Regions from separate parts of the Homo sapiens genome. Here all the other regions are linked to region 1. Evidence: promoter capture Hi-C in 16 types of primary human blood cells and fetal thymus (Javierre and others, 2016). All regions are on one chromosome and are shown on one strand. Each heading gives the region's core, a stretch centred on a gene start or on the middle of the fragment in contact. The rest is flanking DNA. Distances are from core to core; before and after follow the strand shown. Region 1 holds the start of C10orf67 (chromosome 10 open reading frame 67). Region 2 has its middle 60 kb from the start of OTUD1. Region 3 has its middle 99 kb from the start of OTUD1. Region 4 overlaps LOC105376454 (a long non-coding RNA gene). Region 5 has its middle 42 kb from the start of OTUD1.

What was found. The method cuts DNA at HindIII sites, captures the fragments that hold promoters and counts their contacts. A CHiCAGO score of 5 or more calls a contact.
Region 2: a contact is called between a fragment that was not itself captured here and the fragment with the promoter of C10orf67 in region 1, in 1 of 17 cell types (monocytes). The highest score is 6.9, in monocytes.
Region 3: a contact is called between a fragment that was not itself captured here and the fragment with the promoter of C10orf67 in region 1, in 5 of 17 cell types (total B cells, monocytes, non-activated CD4 T cells and 2 more). The highest score is 5.9, in total B cells.
Region 4: a fragment that was not itself captured here is called in contact with the fragment with the promoter of C10orf67 in region 1 in 2 of 17 cell types (monocytes and M0 macrophages); the score reaches 5.2 in monocytes.
Region 5: a contact is called between a fragment that was not itself captured here and the fragment with the promoter of C10orf67 in region 1, in 1 of 17 cell types (monocytes). The highest score is 5.9, in monocytes.

What each region holds. Positions count from the first base shown.
Region 1 is chr10:23,343,544-23,346,347 of GRCh38, reverse strand. It overlaps C10orf67 (chromosome 10 open reading frame 67), which reads left to right and starts at 1,551. Exons shown (of 16, transcript NM_001371909.1): 1 at 1,551-1,779. The coding sequence starts at 1,574. It overlaps C10orf67-AS1 (C10orf67 antisense RNA 1), which reads right to left and starts at 2,391. Exons shown (of 2, transcript NR_155752.1): 1 at 2,258-2,391; 2 at 1,187-1,924. RefSeq lists a silencer at 134-428. The HindIII fragment of the contact is 9,174 bases long and covers 1-2,804 here.
Region 2 is chr10:23,497,616-23,500,315 of GRCh38, reverse strand. No RefSeq gene overlaps it. Among named protein-coding and RNA genes, the nearest start is that of OTUD1, 60 kb to the right of the region's middle. The HindIII fragment of the contact is 3,870 bases long and covers 1-2,700 here.
Region 3 is chr10:23,536,987-23,539,686 of GRCh38, reverse strand. No RefSeq gene overlaps it. Among named protein-coding and RNA genes, the nearest start is that of OTUD1, 99 kb to the right of the region's middle. The HindIII fragment of the contact is 1,884 bases long and covers 488-2,371 here.
Region 4 is chr10:23,556,383-23,559,082 of GRCh38, reverse strand. It overlaps LOC105376454 (a long non-coding RNA gene), which reads right to left. Exons shown (of 9, transcript XR_930754.3): 4 at 1,270-1,447. Among named protein-coding and RNA genes, the nearest start is that of OTUD1, 120 kb to the right of the region's middle. The HindIII fragment of the contact is 685 bases long and covers 1,099-1,783 here.
Region 5 is chr10:23,479,917-23,482,771 of GRCh38, reverse strand. No RefSeq gene overlaps it. Among named protein-coding and RNA genes, the nearest start is that of OTUD1, 42 kb to the right of the region's middle. The HindIII fragment of the contact is 980 bases long and covers 868-1,847 here.

The DNA.
Region 1 (2,804 bases), core at 302-2,801:
TGACAAATGTTTTGACCACATCAACGCCAGTTACTACAGGTGAGAATCTGATCTGAAATAAACAATTTTATAAGCCGGAACACCTGTGAGATAAAATACAGGTAACTGACAAGAAGAGAAGTATTATGTAGTTAACGGTTTCAAAAACAATCATCATCATAGCGTGGTCTCTTAGACACTGAAATCTGAAACTCCTTGATATGCTATAGCAAGGTTTCAAACAAAGATGTTCTGTTCAATGCATGTTTTTGTGGGATGGCGTAACTATGCAGACTATATCAGTCAACAAATGCTGTACAGAGCTGACCAATGACTCATGAAATCTTCTGTGCGATCTCTCTCCTCAGTTTCAAACGATTCATTTATAATTGCACTAGGAAAATAGCCAACAGCTTGTCACATTCTTTACACTGTCTTGGCCCAGCTCTAAACAGATAGGTTTTGAAATTTTAACTTAAAATTTTAATCTTTATTTTAAAACATGTATATACATTGTGGTAAAATATCACTTAGGAAAAAGAAAAGTTATTGTAGATATATAAATTTCTTTCTTTTAAAATACCTTTTGATTATATAATAAAAATTCCCCAAATAAAGTCTGAAGTTAGAGTTTGTAATTAAAAACCTCCAAAGAGTAAAAGTAACTCTTTTTCTCTTCTCTCTTCATCTCCCCCCCAAAAAATAAGCCTTCACAGAAGATGATTTTGGCATTGGTTATGATGTTTTATTGGCATTTGGGGCTTTTAATCTTTGTCTTTAAACATAATAGTAGTGATAATGCTACAGTGCTTTTCTTTTCCTGTTTTGAGCTTCTAAATCCAGCTAAGTTATTTTCACTTACTGTTACAAGACAGAGAAGAGGCCGGGCTCTGTGGCTCACGCCTGTTATCTAGCACTTTGGGAGGCCGAGGGGGGCAGATTGCCTGAGCTCAGGAGTTAGACTAGCCTGCACAACGCGGTGAAACCCCGTCTCTACTAAAAATACAAAAAATTAGCCTGGCTTGGTGCTGTGTGCCTGTAGTCCCAGCTGCTCGGGAGGCTGAAGCAGGAGAATTGCTTGAACCCGGGAGGCGGAGGTTGCAGTGAGCCCAGATCGCGCCACTGCACCCCAGCCTGGGCGACAGAGCGAGACTCCGGCTCCAAAAAATAATAATAATAATAATAAGAGAGAGGAGAAAAAACTTATTTTTCTGTAGATAATATATTGAAATGCAGATGTAGTATAGACAGTTCTAAACCAGACAATGACATTTTAAAAATAAATTTAGCCAGTCGTTTACAGAAAAACAATGACATACTGATATTAGAATAGGTGTCTCCTATTAGTTGACAATGAGTGATACATAATTTAAAACTAAGGATGACAACAGTTTCACTATTAACTCTTATTATTGTAGAAACCTGGTAAAATTGAATTCCACACTAGATGGTATAGTTTAAGACTTAACGCCTCACATTCTGACCTCATTAAATAGAAATCTGTTTAATCTCTGCAAGGAAATATTTTGTCCAGGAACGCCTACGTTTGTGGCAGGTGGAGACAGCTTATTAGGCAGCCTGCTCTCCTCTTATGATGGCCTTGGTCCGGGATCGCAGGGCTCATTATGTCATGAGCATAGTTATTAGATGGGTTCACTGCTTTTCCTCCTCCTTGAGGGGGACCTTTGGCACACGCTGGGAGGCCATGAAAGCCAAGGCCACCGAGCTGCGGGTCTGCTGCGCGCGTAGGAAGCGAGAAGCTCGGGAATTCAAGCCCCCGCAAATGCGCGGGTCCACGAGGTAGGCTGAGCTCCGCGCCTGGGTAGAGGAGGAAGCGAGCAGGGTCCAGGGGCACGGCGGGAGGCTGAAGGGTTATTTACGGGGGTGCAGCTTTCCTCTGGGGTATCGCAGCAGCCTCCAGGCTGTGGGAGTCTTGTGGGGAAGCCTTGAGGCAGGCGGGACAGTGAAAGCGCAGCGGGGTGGCTTGGGAGCCCGCCCCGCCTCCTCCTCCCCCTCTCCACTCCCCTCCTCCCGCGCGTGCTCCCTCCCCATCCTCCTTTCCATCTCTTCCCCCTTCCCCCACTCCTTCCCCCTCTTCCTTCCCTCCACACCTCCTCTACTTCCTTTCCCTCTCCCCTTCCCCCCCATCCCCAACCTTCTCCCTATCCCCCTCCTCCCCATCTCCTTCCCCCTTCCCCTCCCCACCCCGTTCCCCACCCCCCTCCACTCGCGGCCCTCCCCGGCCCCCGCCCACGGATTCCCGCGCTTCGCCGGTTACCTGGGAGTCGCCATGGCAACGGACGCCGGGTTCCCGACTCCGACTCAGGAGAGCGAGCGGCTCCGCGGGAGGCGCACGTCCGGGGCTGCAATGGCGAACTGGGGCGACTCGCCTGAGACAGAGGAGGGCCGGAAGATCATGGAGGGCCTCGAGGCCTCTATTGAACAATTCCAGTTCAACCCCAGGTGACCAGCGGGAGAGGCAGTCCCCGCCGGCCCGCCCCGGAGCCCTCGCGCCCCGGCCCTCGCTCAACGCCTTTCCAGGCCCCTTGCTCCAGCCGCTGGGCTTCAGTTTTTTGTTTGTTTTTCGAGGGGATCACTGTCCGAAAAGAGCTGCAGTTTTCACTTCTTCAAGTGTATAGCTGGACACTAAGAGCACGGACTCTGGAGCCAGACTGCCCGGATTCCAGAATCTTGGCGACCCTCTCACAGGGGCCGTGAGTTAGGCGACTGACTGCTCTGTGCCTCAGTTTTCTCAGCGGGAAATAATCGTTCATGAATGATGAAGAGTAGTGCCTGCTTCATAGATCATAGTGAATATTAAATGA
Region 2 (2,700 bases), core at 100-2,599, 150 kb before region 1:
CATATTAGTAATTTACTTTGCATGCCCTCTCTCCACAGTTGCTAAGCAATTTGCTTATAAATGTCATGAAGCAATGTTGCCAAATGCCTAGCGAATATTATCAGGATCATATCTGGAAAGTGACCCTATTCAAAGTATTACTGAGCACTTATTAAATCAGCTATTGTCAATAACAGAAGAGTCCCAGATAATACTTATTTTGAACAGTCTCGCCGTGTTCAGACCAATCCTGCATAGACTAGAATTAAAACCTTTTACTTCCATGAAGTCTCAGGAGCCCAGGAGGTTTTCTGATGAACTGGCTTAAAGTTTGGGAGTCTTCAGAAAGTAAATAACAGCAAAGCCTGTTTCAAGTCAATTGGGACAGTAGGGGTCAGACCAGAGGGAATGGAGCCCAGGGAGAAATCAACTGTCACAGTGGCTTCGGGGTCACTAGATCCAATCTATTCGAGATTGTTACTGAGTAGAAAAGGTCTCTGGTTTTGCTTTTGTAACGGGTATGTAAGAAATACGTTAGCAGCCCTAGAGTAAGTCAACTTCTTAGTGATTGGGGTCACATCAATCAAATACGACATCAGAGCTTGAAGGTGCTCTAGAGGCTCAGCCAGCAGTCTCATTTCATAAAGGGCAGAATGTCGCTCCAGGGAGGCCATGTGACCTGCCCAATTAAAGTAAAATCATAAAGCAATCAGCAAGGGTGCTGACGGCAGTAACAGGCTTTTCTGGGCCCCTCACTCCCCACCCCCATGCTCACCCAGACATGATGTGATGTGGCCATGAGAAGCATCTCACCTGCAGGCTGTAACAGCCAAATGACAGACGCCCAAACTGGAAACAGTGACCATGGCAACATTTCTAAATATACACCTGGAGGAGGCATTGCAATTCTTTGAGTAAAGAGGTTGGTTAAGAAAAGTATCTGACTACACAGGCTTAAAGAGGTAAACAACATGTTTTTTTTTTTTGTTTTTTTTTTCCCCCATTTGGATATGTGAAATGAGAGCCTGGAAAAGAAGTAGCATCCCTTGGCCGGGTGCGGTGGCTCACGCCTGTAATCCCAGCACTTTGAGAGGCTGAGGCAGGTGGATCATTTGAGGTCAGAAGTTCAAGACCAGCCTGGCCAACATGATGAAACCCCATCTCTACTAAAAATACAAACATTAGCCAGGTGTGGTGGCACATGCCTGTAATCCTAGCTACTCAGGAGGTTGAGGCAGGAGAATCGCTTGAACCCAGAAGGCAGAGACTGCAGTGAGCTGAGACCGTGCAATTGCACTCCAGCCTAGGCGACAGCGCAAGAGTCTCAAAATAAAAAAAAAAACAAATGTATCATCCTATTTAATGTTAGACGGACCCTGTGTCTGGAGTGGAAGAAAGCAGCATCCTTCAAAGGCTGCCCAGGCTGGGGCTTGTGCTCAGAGATGACAACAGGTTGAAGGCAGATGTGGGCTGCCCCTGCCTTCCCCTGGCCACACACTGGGAGACACCATGTCCACGGGAAATGCCCTCCTAAGCAGACAGATAAATCTTGGTCATGGTGCACCCCTCCTGGGCAGCTTCCTTTGCCCCAGTGCCATGAAATCTGACTCTGAACTGCCAAATTCACCCAGTTTCAATCGCCTCCACTTTTCTGCCACTCTTCGCTGACAGCTTCATGGAAGATGGCTTATTCTCTCTTCCCTCTTAGGTAATAAATGTGTCACTTTAATTGGTGGACTGCTCTATGGTAGGCACTGTTCTAAGGGCTTTACGTGTATTAATATTTACTCTTCATGACAGCTGTAGGCTGGGCATGGTGATTACACCTGAAATCCCAGCACTTTGAGAGGCCAAGGTAGAAAGATTGCTTGAGCCCAGGAGTTCGAGACCAGCCTGGGCAACACAAGGAGACCCTGTCTCTATTTCATACTATAAATAAGTACTTTTAAAAATTCTATTAGGTGGATACTACTATTATTCCCATTTTATAGATGAGGAAACAGACCAGAGAGATTATGGTACCAAATATATATTTTAGTAGTGGGTTCTAGTGGTCCAGGAGATCATTTACCTGTTTAGTGTGTAACCCAAAGCAATAGTCTAATATTTGGGATTTCTTTCAGGAGATTTACAGGGAAAAGGATGGTGTCACTACTGGCTTATAAATGACCAAATGGGGGAAAAAAAAAATAGAACTGCTGATAGTCCTGTAATCTTGTAGCTGTAAAATTCACCTATGTGCAAGGTTGACTTTGGGGGAAGTCTGAGTGTCTGTCTACTCTTGAGTTCTCATGTTGGTAAAGAATAAAAAGAACACAGCTTAGCCAGGTGCAGTCACACACGCCTGTGATCTCAGCACTTTAGGAGGCCATAGCAGGAGGATTGCTTGAGCCCAGGAATTCAAGGCCAGCCTGGGCAACACAGTGAGACCCATATCTCTACAAAACATTTTTTTAAAGTAGCTGAGCATGGTGGTGCACACCAGCAGTCCCAGTTTCTTGGGAGGCTGAGGTGAGAGGACTGCTTGAGCCCAGGTGGTCAAAGCTGCAGTGAGCTGTGATTGCGCCACTGCACTCCAGCCTGGCTGACACAGCGAGAGCTTGTCTCTCTCTCTCTCTCTCTCTATATATATATATATATATATAAAATACATATATATAATACAAATATATATATAAACATATATATTCAATTAAATAAAAGAAGAGCATAGATTCACAT
Region 3 (2,700 bases), core at 180-2,679, 190 kb before region 1:
CTCACAGTCAACTCCAGCACTGAAATTCTTGAGCAAAGAAGAGAAATGAAGACCATGTCCCCAGCATTGCCCTAGAGTGGGGAAGAGTTGACATGGACCAACTTCAGCCACAGATACTAAGTAAGCGTCAGCAGGCTAGAATTCTCTGGAGGTATGAAGCTTTGTTATACTTCAAATAATCTCATCCCAACAGGCAATTCTTGGCAAACAGGATGGTTTGCACCATGAACATTGAAAAGCATGCAGAGCCCATGGAAATGAACAATTCCCAGAAAGAAAGTTGAAAGGTGTTTACTGAGCACTGATCAACGTCAAAGACCTATTGCAGTAAGGCCTACAACCTACAGCAGCAAAGACCAAGCACTGCAGAGATGATCTTGGGGCACTGATCTGACATGCTTCTAGCAGCAAAGGGGAACACCTGGGACCCTGCGACGAGAGAGAGGTACCTGAGGCTGGGATTCCCCTGGTTTTATAGTAAGAAGCTTAGAGCATAGATCACTCTTTGCTGAGACACATGAACTATGCCCCTTCAAACTGTTTGTTACAGCTTAAAAAATGAGTCACACCAATGAACCATGGACCATACCACTGATTTAGAATCCTCACCCTTCAGCTAGAGGAGACAAGATGCACAATCATGAAACAAACACAAACATAATTAAGACAGGATTGGTAAGATGCTACCCGCAATTCAACAAAAATCAAAGAAAACAGAGGAACCCATGTATGTAGGAGCAGTCAGAGAAGGTCTGCAGAGGAGATGGGCCTTGAAGGATATATAATATGTAGATGGAAGACAAAAATTGTTCCACGTGTACAGAGGGCTATGTAATGGCATTTGAAGCAGGCAGGAAAATGAGCTGTGTGTAGAGAGGGGAATGGTGAGGAGGCCAATTAGAGCAAGGGGCTAGGAGACCTGCAGAAGATAACACTGGAATGAGAGATTGGACTCAGGATTTGGGGATCACCAACAACAAACTGAGGAGTAGTTCCCAGCCATTCAAGGTTGTGAGAAGAAAAATGGCATAAGGAACGCAGCATCTCAGAGACTGATCTGGCAATGTGTGGTGGGATAGAGCAGAAGGGAATGAAGTAAGGTTATTGAAGAGGTAGTAAGGATCCAGGCATGAGGTTACAAAGCACAAGCAAGAAATTGGAAGGCTCTTGGAGAGAAGGGGTGGGCATTTGCTTTCCACACTCACCTCCTCACCCTATGCCATGCCTCTGCAGTGTTCAATAGCGGCTGTGTTCCTCTGGGAACTGGTGGGTAGACCCAGCTCCATCGATCAGCTTTCTCTGAACTGGCAACCCAGAGCATTGCCCATCCCTTTTGTCCTTTCAATACTAGGAGTGGTAACAGCATCCCAATAGTTTAATACCTGGGAGCCTCCTCATCTCTTCCTGGTTTTCTGAACCATCCCTCTGTGTCTTTTTGGAATGGACCATCTGTGCCTTTGCAGACCCTGACTGATAGACACAACAAAAACATTTTGAAAGAGAAGTAGAGAAGTTATGGATTGGACTGGAAAAAAAAAAGAATGTTAATGAGTATAGTTTTGAGCATGGGAAATTAGAAAACAGGGCATGGAAATATAATGTATTGGTTAGGAGTAGACTCCATTAATTCAACGACATTGCCTGAGATGAATTTGTATCCTCCACTTAACAGCCATGTGATGTCATTTGTTGGGGGGCTGTTGCTTTAGCATTTCTAGGCTGAATTCCTTCAACTGTAAAATAAGAATAATAACTGTTTTAAGGTTTAAATAAGTTAATCCATATAAGGTACTTAAAATGGTGCCAGGTTTAATGCACATGCTTTGTGTTTTTCTATTATTATTGTTATTAAAATAATAATTAGATATTTTACTAATTGCAATTTTCTCAACTTTAAGTGAGTTCTTTCCCAATAGACCCCTCATCTTTCTTCAAAAATTTATTTCCATGTGGAAAACACTGATTATAAGCTCAGGCTTGTGCACTTTGAGTTTAATGGTGACCGTAAAATATTTAAATGGAAATTTCCAGGAAGAATTTGGAAATAAATACTGGCATTCATGTAAGAGGAAATGACAAAGGTATAGATAGATCTAAAAGAGCTTGTATGAAAGGGAGAGATGAAACTTTGAAAACAGATGACCTTTGCAAAGGGGAAAATGTATCAAAAGAACAGCAGAGTTCTAAGAAATAAGCATTGGAGAAACCCACAGTGAGAGGGTGGGAGGAAGACGAGAGGTGAAAAGGAAAAAAGAAGCAAAGGTGCTGGACTTTCCAGTATTACAGGAAATAAAGGAGCAAGAAATAGTAGAAATGACAAATGTCTTTGAACTTCACAGAGAGGTTACTTGGACCTTCAAGAGAAGAAGCTTGAAGAAATGGAGGGAGTGGAAGGGAGAAACAGGTATTTTTAAAAAACTAGAGAAAGCAGGTACAGTCAAGACTAGGTCACTCATGGTTTTTCCCAAGATGGAGTAGACATGGGCAAGAGAAAGGAATCAAAAGAGAAAAACTGAAGATTCTAGAGAAAGAAAAGACAAGTAAGATAGCAAGATGCCTCTGGGAAAACCTAAGAGGCTAGGATTAGAAATCAAATCAGAATTTCTTTAGAAATTAAAAATCAAAATTCCAAGTATTTGCAGGGTTTTCCTACCCTCAATGTGTTCTTTTCATTTATAACAAAGCTAGCTCTTAAGATTT
Region 4 (2,700 bases), core at 192-2,691, 210 kb before region 1:
TCAGGTAATAACTGCCTCTCATCAGTAGCACCTCAGCCCCTGTAGATTACAGGCTTCTTCCCAAAGATCCCATTCTGGAACCCGACTTGTTCTTCCTCAACAACATTTAACTTGGAACTCTATTCCCTGCTAGGGTTAATCAGATAAATGTGTGCCAATTACGTATTAATCTCTGATTCTGGCTTACTCTATAATTCGATCAGATAACTTAATTCATAGAAAGAGGTAGATGAAAGCGACAATCACCTCAATAGCTACATCAGAGGAAGGAAGAGAAAGAGCCGAGTGTTTGAGACTCACAGAGGGAGGGAGAACTCTAGACGGCCCTAAAATTGCACCACAGAGAGGGCTGCACCCAAAGCGATCAGTTAGATTGTGATTCCAGGGAGGAGGACCTTTCCTCTGAGAGAAAAGTTCCGGGTAAAGTCCAATTTGCTGGAAGAGACCTTGAATTTAATGTTGTTATTGCACAAATATTATTAAATCAACTCAAGCTGCAAACCAGAACATTTTCATTTTTCATTAGCTTGATCTGTTTGCATAATGTGACTCATTAATCTTTTTCCCTGAACTAATCTTAGGTTGCAAAATAATTCCATCTCCCGGATCCCAGTCCAATCTTCAAGCTGTAACTAGCTTTCTAAAGATTTCCTTTACTGTAACGAACTCTTTCTTTGCTGACGTCACCTGTTACATAAGCAGCCAGATCAATATGAAATAATGACTTGGATTTACGGCATATCTGAAAATAACACATAGGGCAAGGACAACTGTTGAACAGTAAGGTATGCCAGCCATGTTCACATCCATTATTTTATTTAATTTCTATGATACCTGACAATATGTGCATTATATCCCCACTTTAGAGTTGAATAAAGAGAAATTCAGAGAGGTTAAGTGACTTGCTAAAGGTCACACACCTAGCAAGTGGTGAAACCAAGGTTTAAATTCAGGTCTGTCTGACTTCAGAACTTAGATGCATTCCTTCACATCCCATTCCACATGCAATTTAAAGCCAGAAGAATTAAATAAGAATCTGTCATTTTCACTAAAGATAAAACTGGAATAAATGACTCAAGTTTCAAAAGTTGGAAAGCTTTCTCTAAATAATAATGCCTGTGAGACACAGGATACGTAACCACAGGATGTCTTTAGGATACATATTAGAATAGGTTAGAAAGCCGTAAGGAAGTTTTTATCATGAGGTCTGTCTAAAAGCGGAGATTGGATTAAAGCAACATGCTTCTAAAGCACATATCTGATACTCACCTTTCTGTCTCTGCCTACTATTGTAAGACCGTTAAGTCATCAAGGTAGCACTCTCTAAAATGAATTTCTACATGTTCCCAATGGCGCCAATTAAGCTAAACCTAAGGAATTGCAGTGAACAGTGGCAGCAGCAGATCCTGAAGACTTGGACAGGTTGAGGTCGCCAAATTTCCCTATCCTTTGGAAGTGAAAAGAAATACAAAAAAAAATTATTGTCAATACTCACCATCGGTACAAGGAGATTGACCATCCAGGCCTTCTTTCTGACAACTGCCAGCCGCTCTCAATTTTGTAAAAAGTTGCCAATAAATAAGAAATAGCCTGTTTTTTGTCCATGTCCCAATTCTTTGCATGCACCACTCATTGCTGCTCTCATGCTCATTCCATTAGTTTAGGCATCAAATCATAAATGTAACTGAGATGGTATTTTGCTGTAGGTTCAGTAACATGCTATCACAACTCCTTAGTTTTAAACAATATATCATTCTCACCAATAAGAGACGACAATAAAGCTTAATAGCAAAAGCCATATGCCTGAAACCACAATTCTTTCCTTACCACGTATGAGCAGATGGCCCAGGCCTACTAGGATGATTCAAACTTAATACATGATTCTGAGTCATTTCCTTAGACATTTCCTCAGATGAGCAGAAAGGATTCTAGCTTGAACCTAAACTGTAGTCAGCTTAAGATTCAGGCATTCTGGTGGTATCCGGAAGGCCCCAATGGGACCCTAGAGTCTATTTATGCATGGAACCAAGACGGAAGAGGCTGGAAGTCAGGCACACAAGCTTGGTTCAATGTCAAGGCCCCAAGAACTATTGGCCAACTGGAGAGTAAGGAGGACATTGAGCATATCACTGAGCCCATCCAGCTACTCAACTGCATGCAGACAAGAGTGTGTTTAGAGCCCAAGGCAGCACTGCTCTGGCCAGGTGAGAGTATTACATGATGTTTGGGTACAAGGGGACAGACTCTCCGCACTTTGGTAGAGAATACAACATCTTCTGCAGCATCAGTGACACAGCAGGTAGACAGTCCATGTGGTTTGACCAAAGGGTAACCTGACTGTGCTGGGCACCTTCCTAGTGCCGTGGTGGGCATCAAAGAACAGTGCAGCAGGTCACCACAGGAGAGGCTTAGCAGGAGAGTGGGCGATATCAGGCTCTGCAAGGAACCAAAGAGGACTGTGCTTGAAAATCCACCAAAATTCCCCTGAGGGTTTCCTGAGATATTTGAGAAGAACATCAAAGAGAGAAATCGGGGGTCCTACAAGAGTTTGTTGTTGCAGAGAAGAGAAATATCACTGGCTACTGTTATCACCCTTTTGATTTAACCATTTAGGTGCCCTACGAAAACTAGGTTACAACCTGCTGTGCTGACATCTGAGATAATGGAAGGATACAACTGCAACCAAACCTTGGAGAAAGG
Region 5 (2,855 bases), core at 108-2,607, 140 kb before region 1:
GTACCCAGGAGGTGGAGGTTGCAGTGAACCATGATCACGCCACTGCACTCCAGCCTGGGCAATAGAGTGAGACCTTGTCTCAAGAAAAAAAAAAAAAGATTAAAGGCTACATGTGCAGGTTTGTTACATGGGTATATTGCATGATACTGAGACTTGAGATTCCAACAATTCTGTCACCCAGGCAGTGAGGATAGTACCTAACAGGTGGTTTTTCAGCCCATGCTCCCCTCCCTCCCTCCCCGTCTAGTACTCCCCAGTGTCTATTGTCTTTACATTCATGTGTATTCAATGTTTAGCTCCCACTTATGAGGGAGAACATCTGGTATTTGGTTTTCTATTATTGCATTAGTTCACTCAGGATAATGGCCTCCAGCTCCATCCATGTTGCTGCAAAGGACATGATTCCGTTCTTTTTAAGGCTGCATAGTATTCTATGGTATATATGTACCACATTTTCTTCATCCACACCACCATTGATGAGCACCAAGGTTGACTCCATGTCTTCGCTATTGTGAACAGCACTGCAATGAACACACGAGGACATGTGTCTTTTTAATACATCCACTTCTTATAACATCTATACACCACTGCTAATCATAGCAAACACCTCTGCAGCTTCATTGCTGTGCACTTTCTTGGTGCCTTGGGTAAAACTTCTTCCTCTGCCTCAAGTTCTTTACTTCTTTCTTACTCCCGTTTGATCAGCTCCTCATTGATAAATTCTTCAGCCTCAAAGCCAACAAGCTCATCCTCCTCATCAATGTCAAATTCCACCTGTTTCCCAAGCACTAATACACTGTTACTATTCCATCAACAGCAGGGTCTTTGTTAAAGCCTTTGAATGTGTTCACATATGTCTTCAAAGCTTTCTTCCAAAAGCAATTTATGCATTGCTGTGTGACTTCTTCCTGTGCTGCAGTCATGTTCTGGATAGCACTTAGAATGTTAGAACCTTTCCAAAACTCTAGGAGCATTTGGCCAGATTCAGTCATTTCAGCAGCCTGTGCAAACATCTGGTGTACATAGTATGCTATGAACCCAGCTCTTGTGCTTTAGTCCATTGGTTGAATTAGTGCAGTTTTGTTTGGTGGCAAATACACAACATTTACATCAGGATGCATGTCACCAATATGCTGTGCTTGCCCCAGAGCATTATCTAGCATCAGAAGAATCTTGCATGGGATGTTGTTTTGCCAATAGTATTCTCTTGCCTGTGGACTAAAACCGGTTTGAAACAAGTCTTTGCACAATGTTGATGTCATCCAGGCTTTCTTCTTATGGAAATAATAAATGGGAAATGTATGCTTGCTCACATTCTTGAATGCTCTATGGTTCTCTAACGGCAACCTCTTGGGCTTCAAGCAATCCTCCCACCTTAGCCTCCTGAGTAGCTACGACCACAGGTAAGCATCACCACACTTGACTAATTTTTTTATTTTTTGTGGAAATGGGGTCTCACCATGTTTCCCAGGCTCGTCTCAAACTCCTGAGCTCAAGCAATCCTGCAGCCTTGGCCTCTCAAAGTATGGGGATTATAAGCATGAGAAACCACACTTGGCCCCAAATTTTTAAAAGGACAGTTTCTACCATGTGCATATTGCTTTTGCACCATCCTAAAGTCAGAAAATTGTAAGCTGAACATTGAAAGTCGGGGCCATCTGTACTGCTTTTATGTCCTTGGTGTTTTATCTGTTTTATTTAAAATTGTGAAAAACGAAATGGGATAATGGCATAAAAGTTTCACATAAGAATTAAGAATTACTTTTAATGTAATTTGCAGAGCAAGTCTTAGCTTCGGGAATGCTGCAGAAGAATTTCTAAGAATGATTTTAGAAGTCAGAGAAGCTTTTTAAAAACTGATAAAATGTACACACAAAAAAGACAGTGCTAGGCTGGGCACAGTGGCTCATACCTGTAATCTCAGCACTTTGGGAGGCCAAGGAGAGTGGATCATTTGAGGTCAGGGGTTCAAGACCAACCTGGCCAACATGGTGAAACCCCGTCTTTGCTAAAAATACAAAAAAAATTAGCCAGACATGGTGTCACGTGCCTGTACTCCCAGCTACTCAGAAGGCTGAGGCAGGAGAATTGCTTGAATCCGGGAGACAGAGGTTGCAGTGGGCCGAGATCGTGTCACTGCACTCCAGACTGGTGACAGAGCGAGATTCTGTCTTAAAAAAAAAAAAAAAAAAAAAAACTGTGTTGCCTCCTTTTAGAAGAATCTCCACCATCCAGGAGCCCACCCAAAGACCAAGGACTTCCCTGAGGATTATGGACTCCCCTCAAAATCCCTGCCCTGGAAAGCCAATTTTTGATTTCAGAATAAAACATTGCTGTCCTGGGAGAACTTTCATCCAATTTCCCCATATAAGCCTAGGGACCCTGATATTCACCAGGCAGTTATTTTGTCCCCTCTCTCTTAGAGGGAAAAATGAGATTAACCGACCATGACCACTATTAAGCAACTTACCACAAGGCTCTGCAAGTCCTTTCCCAGAAGACAAATATTGCAACAAGGGGAGAACGTGTTCTGTTTGCCTGTAGAAATCCTCTCTTAATTTAAAATGTGTGCATGCACCCTCTCCAGTTAGGAAAGTTATTAGAGAAAATCGGCCCAATGAGCATGCCTCCAGGGAAGAGAAAGTGATGACTGGTGTCTTCTCACCTATATTTTTTATTCCAGGGGTGATAGTAGAGGGCAGAACACCACCACCTTATAAAGTAGATACTCACTCAGGGCCACCAAATTCAGTTGTGTGCTGCAGGCCAGTTCCTTTGTATATACCTCTGCCCAAGTAAACACAAGTCCAGGGCTGTTCAGAGATTTTATAAAGTACTATCTCATTTGTAGATGC